Regions from separate parts of the Homo sapiens genome. Here regions 2, 3, 4 and 5 are each linked to region 1. The links are contacts of gene promoters, found by promoter capture Hi-C in human tissues and cell types (Jung and others, 2019). All regions are on one chromosome and are shown on one strand. The core of a region is centred on a gene start or on the middle of the fragment in contact, and the rest is flanking DNA. Distances in the headings are between cores, read along the strand shown. Region 1 holds the start of MTFMT (mitochondrial methionyl-tRNA formyltransferase). Region 2 overlaps CLPX (caseinolytic mitochondrial matrix peptidase chaperone subunit X). Region 3 overlaps ANKDD1A (ankyrin repeat and death domain containing 1A). Region 4 overlaps PDCD7 (programmed cell death 7). Region 5 overlaps UBAP1L (ubiquitin associated protein 1 like).

The links. The method cuts DNA at HindIII sites, captures the fragments that hold promoters and counts their contacts. A contact is called where the count stands out against the background at its distance.
Region 2: a contact is called between a fragment that was not itself captured here and the fragment with the promoter of MTFMT in region 1, in 7 of the 25 tissues and cell types used here (H1 embryonic stem cells, aorta, heart right ventricle and 4 more).
Region 3: a contact is called between a fragment that was not itself captured here and the fragment with the promoter of MTFMT in region 1, in 3 of the 25 tissues and cell types used here (dorsolateral prefrontal cortex, lymphoblastoid cells and mesenchymal stem cells).
Region 4: a contact is called between a fragment that was not itself captured here and the fragment with the promoter of MTFMT in region 1, in 5 of the 25 tissues and cell types used here (aorta, dorsolateral prefrontal cortex, mesendoderm cells and 2 more).
Region 5: a contact is called between a fragment that was not itself captured here and the fragment with the promoter of MTFMT in region 1, in 2 of the 25 tissues and cell types used here (aorta and mesenchymal stem cells).

The regions. Positions count from the first base shown.
Region 1 is chr15:65,028,331-65,030,907 of GRCh38, forward strand. MTFMT (mitochondrial methionyl-tRNA formyltransferase) reads right to left here and starts at 1,309. Exons shown (of 9, transcript NM_139242.4): 1 at 1,075-1,309. The coding sequence starts at 1,283. RefSeq lists silencers at 722-1,021, 1,272-1,461. The HindIII fragment of the contact is 8,500 bases long and covers 1-2,577 here.
Region 2 is chr15:65,147,427-65,150,003 of GRCh38, forward strand. CLPX (caseinolytic mitochondrial matrix peptidase chaperone subunit X) reads right to left here. Exons shown (of 14, transcript NM_006660.5): 14 at 793-2,577. Among named protein-coding and RNA genes, the nearest start is that of PDCD7, 15 kb to the left of the region's middle. The HindIII fragment of the contact is 4,931 bases long and covers 1-2,577 here.
Region 3 is chr15:64,921,189-64,923,765 of GRCh38, forward strand. ANKDD1A (ankyrin repeat and death domain containing 1A) reads left to right here. Exons shown (of 15, transcript NM_182703.6): 4 at 733-831. Among named protein-coding and RNA genes, the nearest start is that of ANKDD1A, 11 kb to the left of the region's middle. The HindIII fragment of the contact is 3,028 bases long and covers 1-2,577 here.
Region 4 is chr15:65,126,007-65,128,583 of GRCh38, forward strand. The region is part of intron 2 of PDCD7 (programmed cell death 7); the gene reads right to left. Among named protein-coding and RNA genes, the nearest start is that of PDCD7, 6.5 kb to the right of the region's middle. The HindIII fragment of the contact is 5,174 bases long and covers 1-2,577 here.
Region 5 is chr15:65,107,398-65,109,974 of GRCh38, forward strand. The region is part of intron 1 of UBAP1L (ubiquitin associated protein 1 like); the gene reads right to left. Among named protein-coding and RNA genes, the nearest start is that of UBAP1L, 6.5 kb to the right of the region's middle. The HindIII fragment of the contact is 4,545 bases long and covers 1-2,577 here.

The sequences.
Region 1 (2,577 bases), core at 59-2,558:
GCTTGATCTTTGAGGTCGAGGCTGCAGTGAGCTATGAGCCGGCCACTGCACTCCAGCCTGGGGGACAGCGCGAGACCTCGCCTCAGAAACAAACAAAAAAAGTGTTGGTATAAATGTATAAATGCAGTGAGAGACGCATGTGACAACAGCAGCCCATGAAGGGTGTGCAAAGGGAACATGGGGTTTCCTTCCGGGTGTGTGCACAGAGGGGTGTGTGGAGGAAGGAAAACCACACAGGGGATTGACGAAGGATTCAATACATGAGGGGCTGCTGTGAAGTATCTGTAGGGAAAAGGAGATGGAGATGACCAAAAAAAGTGGAAGGAGGACTGCGTCAGAAAAAAACAGAATGGGGAAATAAAAAACATTAATTGGGAAAAAGAGGCAGAGAAGTATATACGGTATTGCCACCACATACCATGGACTCTCAGGACTGGTTGGATTTCAAATAATTTTCTTTCCCAGTAAACAAAACTTGTTAAATATTATGAATACTAAATGTATACCTAACAGTTCTGATTTATAAATTTATTCTTTTGAAAACAGGTCGTTTTTGGACTATGTCCTTGTATACAAGGAGCACAGGGGGAGCAAAAGAGCGAGACACGGGTGTGCCGAAGGATGGGGGTCAGGAGGAACTGCAAAGCAGGGAACTTTGAAGTGGGACCTGGTTTTAGTCCGAACCACCTCGGCTGATGACCTTGGGCAATCGCATAACCTCTCTGAGCCACGGATTCCCCACACTCAAAACGGGCAGGGAGGCCGTGGGACTGGCCCGGGGGATGCAGGCAGAGCGCCCAGCCCCAGCTCGGCACAGCGTGGGTGGCAGGGCGCCTGGAGAACCCACAGAGGCGGCGGGGAGTGAGGGGCGCAGACCGCAGGTACTAGGCGCCCAAAGGCTGACCGGCGGGAATGGCGCACCTTCTGGGAGCCAGAAGACGCCGAGATCTGGGCCCACACCGCTCTGCCGCCCATGCTTTCCGCAACCAGAAGTCCAAAACCCTCGGGGCCGGCCGCCCGGGCGCGGCCTGGAGGCCTTCAGCGGCCGGGTCCCCGGATCCCTGGCCCGGGTACCTGGCGGCGTGCAGCGCCCGCAGCGCCTCGCGGGCGAACTGGTCCGTGCCGAAGAAGAGCACCCGCCAGGGAGGCTTCTCGCGGACTCTGGAGTCCCGGCAGTCCTCCCAGCCGAGTCGGGCCAGTGCTCGCCACTGGGGACTCGGCCTCCCACGCCTGGCGCCATGAGCCAGCGGAGGACCCCAACAGCGCCGCACCAACACCCTCATCGCCTCGGCCGCCGGCGGCCGGCCCTGCGCAGGCGCATCGGGGCGGGGACAAGGGTGCAGCCTGGGGAGGGCGGGGCTTGCCTGCTTGGAGGCGGGGTCTGGTTGGAGTTGGTGAACGAATTTGCCCGCTACAGCGGCCCTAGATTTTTGTTCTGTTTATTTGCACTATGTAGCCAATCCTCCAGAATAAGTCTTTCTTTTCTTTTTAAAATCGCTTTATTTATTTATTTATTTATTTATTTATTTATTTCAGAAAGGGTCTTGCTCTGTCGCGCAGGCTGGAGTGCTGTGGCGCGATCTCTGCTTACTGCAACCTCACTGCTCCTGGGCTCAAGGGATCCTCCCACCTCAGCCTCCGGAGTAGCTGGGGTACAGGCACACATCACCATGCTGGGCTGATTTTTTGTAGAGAGAGTATCTCACTATGTTGCCCAGGTCTCAAGCAATCCTCCTGCCTTGGCCTCCCCAAGTGCTGGGGTTACAGGCGTGAGCCACTGCGCCGGCCCAGGATAAGTCTTTTGGTAACAAATCGTGCATGTTTTCAGACAATGAAACCTCATGTATATAGTGCATGTCATTTCCTCAACCATTATAACCAATATTTGCTGAGTACTTCACTCCGTGCCACGTTTTTGCTAAGCATTTTATATTCATTATTCTGGTTAATCATCAGATCAACCTTAGGAGGTAGATACTATTACAAATATGTTACTGAAGAGAAACTGAAGCTCCGTGAAATTAAGGACTTACCAGTGTATAAGGTCCACACAGCTAGTAAAGGACAGAGCAGAGGTGGGACTCTTGTAATTCCAACGCTTGTAATCCTAGCCGTTGGGCCTTCTCAGCGATCCTATGTATTAGGCAAGTCAATTACCCACATTTTGCACCTGAGGAAACTGAGCCTTAGTTACTTGTCTGCAGTTACTTTCTTGAATCGAAGGCTCCATCTTTACTCCTCCCCTGTGGGTTCCTTTGCACACAGAAGGATACCATAGAGGTGATTCCTAGGGAAATGGACAGGGAACCTTATCCCCAGAAGACCTCCGAGGACCGTTAGTGCTTAGATTCTGTATCCCCAAAGCCTCCTTGAGTGGAGTCAGACATCCATGAAACAGGATCTGAGCAGAGACTGAAACCGAATTTTGTTCTAATCTTATTCTCACCACCATTTTTTTTTTTTTTTTTTTTTTTTTTGAGATGGAGTCTCGCTCTGTTTTTCAGGCTGGAGGGCAGTGGCGGGCGATCTTGGCTCACTGCAACCGCTGCTTCCCAGGTTCAGGCGATTCTCCTGCCT
Region 2 (2,577 bases), core at 24-2,523, 120 kb after region 1:
CCACTGGGAATAATTCAGAAGGAAGGACACAGATACTATAGTAGAGACATGATCAAAAGAATTAAAGGCCTTGAGAAATGAGAGGGGATGATGAGACCCAGAGCATGTGGGGAGTGACTGAGTTTTGTAGGAGGGATACTTCAGTTGTAACTAGAGAGAAAGGTTGAGTGATGGAGTAGATAGATTTATAGATGGTGGGATGATGAATTCCATCAATGGTTTTTCAATGAAATGTGAAGCAAGATCCTTAGCTAGATGGAGAGGAGAATATTAAATGGTCATTTCAGAGTATTAACAAGAAGTTACAGTTGTTGCTTATTTCTTACCTCCTACAGCTTCCTAGTTGTTGTTTTACACTTCTGAGATTTTGATTTAGTTCTCATTATTCTTTTCTGGCAAATTTCTACTTGTTCTTCCAGACTTATCTAGGCCATCACTTTCTATGTCACCACACCTGGTACCTATCTCACTTCCACTATTAAAATACACTTTAGTTTGTATTTGTTTCCCCTACAAGACTAGTAAGATTCCTGAAAAACTTGGCCTGTGTCCCTAGTGTCAAGCGGGACATTTAAGTAAGGATTTTTGATAAATGTTTAACAGACATTGTCTGTGGAATCTACAGCTAGAATTTATCTGATATGGAAGTGCCAAGGATTAATCAATCCCTAGAATGAAGCAGCTCATATGACATCTGTGCCCTTTTAAAAATGGCACTGTTTGGCTGTGCTTGTTGTTGTCAATGCAGAGTGCTCCTGCACCATTGCTGTATGGACACACCACCACGTTGGCTTTCATTTAGTCTTTTTGTTTTATTCAAATGTCAAAATGTAAGTTCCAAGATACAAATTATGTTTGATTTAAAAACATCGACTATGCTTTGTTAACAACTTCCAAAGCCAAATGTAAGTTGTTGTGACTAAAATGCCTCCCCAGTACATTTCTGGAGGATTAACCTTAATATGTTTAGCAGCTAGTCTGATTTCCACTCTACAAAAAGGAAAATGATGCTATAAGGGAAAGATAATGAACAAAGTTATAATATGTAAGACTTCCTGGGAAGAACTTGAACCATTACTAGGGAGACCAAGGAGAGGTGTTTCTGTTCCATACTATAGCAACCAGCCTTAACACTCTGTAATACAAAGTGCATTTCTGGTCCTACCCAGCCATAAATACCATACATCCCTTTTATTAATTATATCAAAGAAAGCCCAACTCTTCATCAACAAGATTTAGAATTTCCTAATAGCTTTAGTTTTTCCCTAAAAAAAACTGTGTAAAAGGAAAGCTCGAGTCTATAAACCAAAAAAAAAAACCCACAAATATTTACATGTACTCTGATTTAAACAATTTCAAATGAGATTAAACTGAATGAATATAGAACTTGTACCACCATTATAGAAGGAAAGAAAAAAAGCTTAAAAGGTACCCAAATATTTTAATATTTATGGAATTAAATGATACAATTTTCATTAAGACCCCAAATATCCCACCACTTTTTAGCTTTGCTGTATAATGAAGGTTAGTAACTTATATGTTAGTGTGAACACATTTACTTTGGCTGATAGCAAAACATAGATTTTTTAAAATGTTCTAAGAAGCCAAAGAATTAGACCAAAATGTTCAGCACCAAAAAACAAAACAAAAAAACTAGCTCAATACTTCAGGTTAAATACACAATATCAAGAAATTTTATTTAGGTCAGCACATGGCTGTTACTATGACTGATACTGCATGCTATTTCTAGAATTAGATATGTATCTTTCTGGCTGGATGCGGTGGCTCATGCCCGTAATTCTAGCACTTTCAGAGGCCAAGGTGGCCGATTGCCTGAGCTCAGGAGAGACCAGCCTGGGCAACATGGCGAAACCCCGTCTCTACTAAAAATACAAAAAATTAGCCAGGTGTGGTGGTGCACGCCTGTAGTCCCAGCTACTCAGGAGGCTGAGGCATGAGTATCGCTTGAACCTGGGACTCAGAGGTTGCAGTGAGCCAAGATTGTGGCACTGTACTCCAGCCTGGGTGACACAGCGAGACTCTGTCTCAAAAAAATAAAATAAAATAGATATATAACTTTCTGAAGATTTAAGCCAGACTTCAATTCCATGTACTCACCCATAGTACTAAAATGGATTAAAGATGGTAAATAAGGCCGGGTGTGGTGGCTTACGCCTGCAATCCCAGCACTTTGGGAGGCTGAGGCCAGCAGATCACAAGGTCAGGAGTTACAGACTAGCCTGGCCAACAGGGTGAAACCCTGTCTCTACTAAAAATACAAAAATTAGCCAGGTGTGGTGGTGCGTGCCTATAATCCCAGCTACTTGGAAGGCTGAGGCAGGAAAATTGCTTGAACCTGGGAGGCGGAGGTTGCAGTGAGCCAAGATCGCACCACTGCACTTCAGCTTGGGACAGCGTGAGACTCCGCTCAATTAAAAAAAAAAAAAAAAAAAAGATGGTAAATAAATCAGACAACTTGGTAAGAAAATGGCCTTTTTTACAGAACCAATTGGGAAGTTAGTGTCATGCATTAGCAGATAAGACTAGGAATACAGCTAAACCAATTATCAAAATATA
Region 3 (2,577 bases), core at 28-2,527, 110 kb before region 1:
GGTTTCAAACTCCTGGGCTCAAGTGATTCACATCTCAGAGTGTTGGGATTACAGGTGTGAACCACCACACCCAGTTATGAAGCTTTATTTGTCAAGTATATATTCTAAGATTGGTTCCTTACAAATTTTTTCTTTTAAAATGGTCTTTCTTTATGAAATGGTGATGAGAGTAAATGGCAGCTGGTTTTTTTGTTTGTTTGTTTTGAGACGAAGTCTCACTCTGTCACTCAGGCTGGAGTGCAGTGGCATGATTTCACCTCACTGCAACCTCCGTCTCCTGGGTTCAAGCGATTCTCCTGCCTCAACCTCCCAAGTAGCTGGGATTACAGGTGCCCACCACCACGCTCGGCTAATTTTTCTATTTTTAGTAGAGACGGGGTTTCACCATATTGGCCAGGCTGGTCTTGAACTCCTGACCTCATGTGATCCTCCTGCCTCAGCCTCCCAAAGTGCTGGGATTACAGGCGTGAGCCACCAAGCCTGGCCGGCAGCTGTCTTATTTTTAAGTTTCATTTAGCAAAAATAAATTTTAAAAGTTTGCAATAGTACATCAGCCTCTATTTAAAAAAAAAAAAATCTTGGTCTTTAAACTCCTAAAGCTTGGAGCTCCCTGGATTAAGTGGCACTTATAGTTCCTTCTGGTTGTATGGTTTAGTCATAAGGCACAGGGCCTGGCTGGCACAGCCACGCCTTCCCACATTCTTCTCACCTCCTCTATGTCCTCTCCCCTAGTTTGGGATGAATGCGCTTCTCCTGTCTGCCTGGTTCGGCCACTTACGAATCCTCCAGATCTTGGTAAACTCAGGGGCCAAGATCCACTGTGAGAGCAAGGTAAGGCCTCAGCTGGTAGACCCCTGTCCCCTCGGCTCCCCTGGCCTGGATGCACAGGTCTCCCCCGACCTCTGTCCCCCACCCCTGCTTGCCCCTCCAGCCCCCAACCTGCCTCTGCCTGTCCCTCTTTCATCTGATCTCCCCCACCTCCCTTTACTATTCGGTGAGTTGGGAGAGTTCCCAGCCCTCTGGCTGGCCTCCTTATTTACAAGAGAGAAATCAAAGTAACTCCCTCAGAGGGTAGTTAGAAAAATTAAATGAGAAGGAGGTGAGGTCTCCTCCACCCTCCTGCCAGGCTCTGCACCCCTTGTGCTCAGTGCGGTGGGGTGAAAGGAGCAAAGCATCATTTACCAAGTGTGGTATGGTGGGCGAGTTTCTCTATCAGCCTGCACTGGGATTTGAGGGAGCAGGGCCCCAGCAAGTGAGAGTGCCTGGAATCCCTCCACTGGTGTCTAACCTTTTAGGGTGTCAGTGGCCCATAGGAAAATGCAAACATTTCTGGGCCAAATCCCTCAGCCAGGAGTTCTCACATGGGTTCTTGGAGAAAATTCAGAGGACCTATGAACTTGGATTGGAAAAAAATGCATATTTATTTTGGCTAACTTCTTGAAAATTTAGCATTTTTTTCTTTCTTTCTTTTGAGATGGAGTCTTGCTGTGTCACCCAGGCTGGAGTGCAGTGGCATGATCTCAGCTCACTGCAACCTCCGCCTACTGGGTTCAAGCAATTCTCTTGCCTCAGCCCCCAGAGTAGCTGGGACTATAGGCGCGTGCCACCACTCCCGGCTAATTAGCATTTTTTCCAATCATGAATGTAGGTAATATTAGTACTTGTGACTTTGTCACTAATAGAAAATTTAGCTATTTTCATATCACATGAAAATTTTTGCAGTTATCTTAAAATACTTCTTACACTTATCATTACATTGAAATTATGGCAGTGATTAGACCCTTCACTAGATCTTGTTGTTTAACGGGTCAGTAAGGAAACACATATGTTACTAGATTGAAAACTTGGTTTGTAATATTTTCATAACTTAATTTCAATATAATTGGTTTCCTTTTATGGTAGGCAGAATAATGGCACCCCAAAGATGTCCATATCCTAATCCCTAGAACCTCTGAACCCCCACAACCTAACACACCAATAGGAATTTGTTGGGTGTGATGTGATATGTGTGAGGTGTGATGAAGGAGGCAGGGCTGGAGTGATGTGAGCCACTAGCCAAGGAATTCGGGCAGCTTCTAGAAGCTGGAAAAGGCCAGGAAATGGATTTTCCCCAAGAGCTTCCAGAAGAAACACAGCATTGCCAACCCAATTTAGAGTTCTGACCTCTAGTATTGTAAAATAATAAATTTATGCTGTTTTATGCCATGAAGCTTATAGTAATTTGTTATAGCAGCAATAGGAAACTAATACGCCATTGTAAGCCTGTGTATTTGATTAATTTTTTTTCCTGTATAATTTTTTTTTGCATTTAAGTAAATATTCTGAGAAGGGGTCTATAGGCTTCACCAGATGTAAAAGGGTTGTGGCACATAAGAGGTCTGTCCCATGCCATTGTTAGGATCCTGTTGGCAGTGGTGGGAGTGCCTGAAAGCATTTGGGTTGGAAAATCCATCCCAGAGAACCATGCCCCTATGTGGTGGGTCACAAGATCTGAACTGGAGTGTGGGAGGGAGGGGCCAGCAGGAGGGCACCCTGTGAATACACCCAGGTTCAAGCTCAGGGTTCTGCTGTCTGGTC
Region 4 (2,577 bases), core at 55-2,554, 98 kb after region 1:
AAGAACAGCATGTGAAAGACCTGTCCCCATGATTCAATTACCTCCCACCAAGTCCCTCCGACGACATGTGGGAATTATGGGAGCTACAATTCAAGATGAGATTTGGGTGGGGACACAGCCAAACCATATCACCAAGACTACACAATCTCTCTCTAAGCACTTGCCACTTTCCAGAAGGAAGCAGGGAGTCTATCTTTTCCTCCCATCTCTCTGACCTCTCTTGGTCTCTTTTTTGCTCTCTTCATCTTCTACCTTGATTTTGACATTCCCTATGATTTTGTCTTTTTGGCCCTCATCTCATGCTGTACAATCTCCTTAAGGTCATTCTGACTCATGGCTACATGCTAATGAACTCTTATCCAGGATGTACCACACACACCTCAAACTCGACAGGTCCCCAACTGAACTTGTCAACCCTAAACCTGTTCCTCCTCCCTTGTTTTCCTTCTTAATTAGAATGGTATCGGCCAGGCACAGTGGCTCACACCCTTAATCCTAGAACTTTGGGAGGCCAAGATGGGAGAATCGCTTGAGCCCAGGAGTTCGAGACCAGCTTGGGCAACATGGCGAAACTCTATCTCTACAAAAAATTTAAAAATTAGCCAGGTGTGGTGGTGTGCACCTGTAGTCTCTACTACTCAGGAGGCTGAGGTGGGAGGATCGCTCCTGCCTGGGAGTATAAGGCTGCAGTGAATTATGATTGCACCACTGCACTTCGGCTTGGGCGACAGTGCAAGACCCTGTCTTTTAAAAAAAAAAAAAGCAAAAAAAAAAAGCTATCTTCACTTATTCAGTAGATGAGGCTAGAATCTGGAAGACATTTCATTGTTTTTCCCTTTAGTTCCTGTACTCTGAGTTCCTTAAATTATTTATTTATATGTACATGGGTATATACACATATACCTTTATTCATTATCTCTCAATTCTTTGACTTGAGAATTATTCACTAATAATTCTGAATTACTCAATTATTCACTATCACTTGAATTACTCATTACCTCTCAATTCTCCTACACACTGACGTCACTCAGCTTATGCTTCCATACTACCCGTGCCCAATAGCCTTACCCATCTCTCTGCCCTTCTCTCTCTCTCCTGGATGCTCCAAAACTTTCTCTGCTCTACTGGCACTGATCTTTGCCATCATTTCACTTAAAAACTTTCAGCGGGGCCAGGCGTGGTGGCTCACGCCTGTAATCCCAGCACTTTGGGAGGCCGAGGCAGGTGGATCATGAGGTCAGGAGATCGAGACCATCCTGGCTAACAAGGTGAAACCCCGTCTCTACTAAAAATACAAAAAATTAGCCGGGCGCGGTGGTGGGCGCCTGTAGTCCCAGCTACTCGGGAGGCTGAGGCAGGAGAATGGCGTGAACCCGGGAAGCGGAGCTTGCAGTGAGCCGAGATTGCGCCACTGCAGTCCGCAGTCCGGCCTGGGCGACAGAGCGAGACTCCGTCTCAAAAAAAAAAAAAAAAAAAAACTTTCAGCGGTTCCCCAAAGCTTTAAGTATAAGTGAGAACTCTAGCATAGCCCATAAGACAATTTGCAACGTGGTCCTGCTTAAACATCCAGCCTCATCATTCAGCACTTAGTTGGAGGTGCACACATCTTGAAGAGAGAAGTTAGCTGCTCATTTTAAATATGCATGCAACCAGCTGCTACTTACCAAATCATTTTACATTCAAGTCACTTAATGCCACAAAGTCTGTTTATTTCTATAGATAATGATTTTCCTAAAATTTCCTCCTCCTTTTGGACCAAAGTGAGGAAGATTAATATTGGGAAATGCTGGTAAATTCACTTGGCAGAAGTTTACTGAGCACTCACCTCATAGAGGATGTGAGGTGTGGGAATATTAAATAGCTCTCAGGTTTTGCCTTCTAGTGAAAAAGAGATGGGTAGACAAAGCAGATGCTAACTTCCCTCTGATTTACAAATGCCCTGAGAGTACCACAATGGAGGCATCTGTTTCTGAGGTCTGGATGTGAATTAGCCGCTCTGAAGGCTAGTATGCAAAAGCCAATCACTTAGCTAGCAAACGAGCCTGGGTGAATACAAAATGGTCATATTCCAACACAACTTTCTTAAGGGTCTAAAAGAATCCCAGTTTTCATTTACATTTTAAACAACACATGGGAAATCATTTGTTAGAGTGGCATTTGCTAATTTGTACACTCTCAAATATCTCTGGTGAATACCAAAGGCCTACAATCTACTAAATAAATCAGCATGTGGTCCAAAGCAGGTGCAAGTGAGAAGCAACAGGAGGTTACCTCAGCCCAGATCAGGGAAGGATGAAGGATGCTGCATGTGTATTTGGTTTTGAATAGTGAGATCTTAAAATGGCAAAGATGGGACTGAGGGCCCTCCAGATGAACAGAATGACAACAGCTAAGATCCAGACAGGCAAATGGAAAGCACAATTGGGTAACTTCTAGAAAGCCAGCATGGTTGAAACAAACTTCGGTGGAGAAGCTTGAACTGCCTGGCTATAGTGTCTGGTGCTTCCTCCAGAGGCAAGAAGAGACCAGTGACATGAAGGGAAGGTGGGGAAATCCACACAGTCTGCAATCCCTGCC
Region 5 (2,577 bases), core at 51-2,550, 79 kb after region 1:
AATCATGTAAATGGACTCTTCTAAAAATTTTATTAGAAATGGAACATTTTAGGCCAGGTGCAGTGGCTCACACCTGTAATCCCAAATCCCAGCACTTGGGGAAGTCGAGGTGGGAGGATTATCTTGAGGTCAGGAGTTGGAGACCAGTCTGGCCAACATGGTGAAACCCCGTCTCTACTAAAAATACAAAAATTAGCTGGGCATGGTGGTGGGTGCCTGAAATCCCAGCTACTTGGGAGACTGAGGCAGGAGAATCGCTTGAATCTGGGAGGCAGAGGTTGCAGTGAGCCAAGATCACACAATTGCACTCCAGCCTGGGCAACAAGAAGGAAACGCTGTCTCAAAAAAAAAAAAAAAAAAAAAGGAAAATTTAAAAAGTTACCATTTATATTAGTATAGTTCTCTAGGACTAAATCTAACACAAGATGTATGAGACCGCTACACGGAAAACTATAAAACATTTGGTTAAATGGAGGAACATACCACGTTCAAGGATTGTAAAACTGAATCTTGTAAAGATAGCAGTTCTCCTCCAATTAATTTATTCATCCCATGTATCAAAATTCCATCACTTTTTTTTTTGGTAGAAATTGGCAAGCTAATTCTAAAATTAAATGAAATGCAAAGGACCAGGAAAAGCCAAGAGACTCTTGGAGAAGCAACACAGTGGAAGACTTTCACTATCAGATAGCAAGACCTTCAAGTTATGAGAATGAAGAGAGTGACTTAAAGACTTACAAAGAGACCAACAGGACAAAAAAGAAAGTCCAGAAACATATCCACACATGAATCTTTGACTTATGACAAAATTGGCTCTGTAGAGTAGCTGGAAAGGGAAAGTCTTTTAAATAAATTGTTCTGGATTAATTTGATATCCATCTGGGGAAAAAAAAAAACAAAAACAATATTGACCTCTACCTCATGTCATACCTAAAAATCAATTCCAGGTGGACTGTAGATTTAAATGTAAAAGGTAAAATAATAAAACTCAAAGATAAAAATGAAAGACTATATTCATGGCCTTGTAATAGTCAAAACATTTCTTAAGTTACAAAAGGGCTAACGGGCCAGGCACGTTGGCTCATGCCTATAATCCCAGCACTTTGAGAGGCCCAGGCAGGAGGATCAGTTGAGGCCAGGAGATTGAGATGAGCATGGGCAACAAAGCAAGACCCCTATCTCTACAAAAAATACAAAACTAGCCAGGTATGGTGGCATACACCTACAGCCCCAGCTACTCGGGAGGCTGAAGTAGGAGGATTGCTTAAGCCTGGGAGGATGAGGCTGCAGTAAGATGAGTGAGCTGTGAGCCCAGGTTGCACTCCAGCCTGGGCAACAAAATGAGACACTGTCTCAAATAAATAAATAAATAAATAAATAAATTAAATTTAAAAAAACACAACAACAACAACTCCAAAAGAGACTAACCATGAAGGAAAATTCTGATAAACTGGATTACATTAAAGTTAAGAACTTCCGCCAGGTGCAGTGGCTCACACCTGTAATCCCAGCACTTTGGGAGGCTAAGGCAGGCAGATCGCTTGAGGTTGGGAGATCGAGACCATCCTGGCCAACATGGTGAAACCCTGTTTCTACTAAACATACAAAAATTAGCCAGGCGTGGTGGCACACATCTGTAATCTCAGCTACTAGGGAGGCTGAGGCAGGAGAATCGCTTGAACCTGGGAGACGGAGGTTGCAGTGAGCCAAGATCACACCACTCTACTCCAGCCTAGGTGACAGAGCGAGACTCTGTCTCAAAAAAAAAAAAAAAAGAAAGAAAAAAAAGTTAAGAACTTCCATTTGGCCGGGCGTGGTGGCTCACACCTGTAATCCCAGCACTTTGGAGGCCGAGGTGGGCGGATCACAAGGTCAGGAGATCGAGACCATTCTGGCTAACATGGTGAAACCCCGTCTCTACTAAAAATACAAAAAATTAGCTGGGCATAGTGGTGGGCGCCTGTAGTCCCAGCTACTCAGGAGGCTGAGGCAGGAGAATGGCATGAACCCAGGAGGCGGAGCTTGCAGTGAGCCGAGATCACGCCACTGCACTCCAGCCTGGGTGACAGAGCGAGAATCTGTCTCAAAAAAAAAAAAAAAAAAAAAAACTTCCATTCATCAGAATATACCATTAAGAGAGTTAAAACAAAAACAAAAACAAATCACAGAGTGGGAGAAGATATTTGCAACAAATCTATATGACAAAGGACTCATATCCAGTATATACAAAGAACTTCTATAAACAATAAGAAATGGGCAAGAGACTTTTAATATGCACTTTACAAAAGAGGATATCCAAATAGCCAATATGATAAGTTGTTTAACTTCATTAGTCATCAGGGGAATGCAAAATAAAACAATGAGATACCACTACACAAACATACAACCATTAATTTAAGGTTAAAATTAAAAAGCTTCACAATATCAAGCGATGATGAGGATGTGGAACATCTATAACTCTCATTCACTGTTGGTCAGAAAGTCACTTAGTCAACAGTATCTACTAAACCTGAAAGCCAAGAATTAAGAACTCATTCACACATCACTTCTTGGCTTTTTGGGTTAGATCAAGACTAG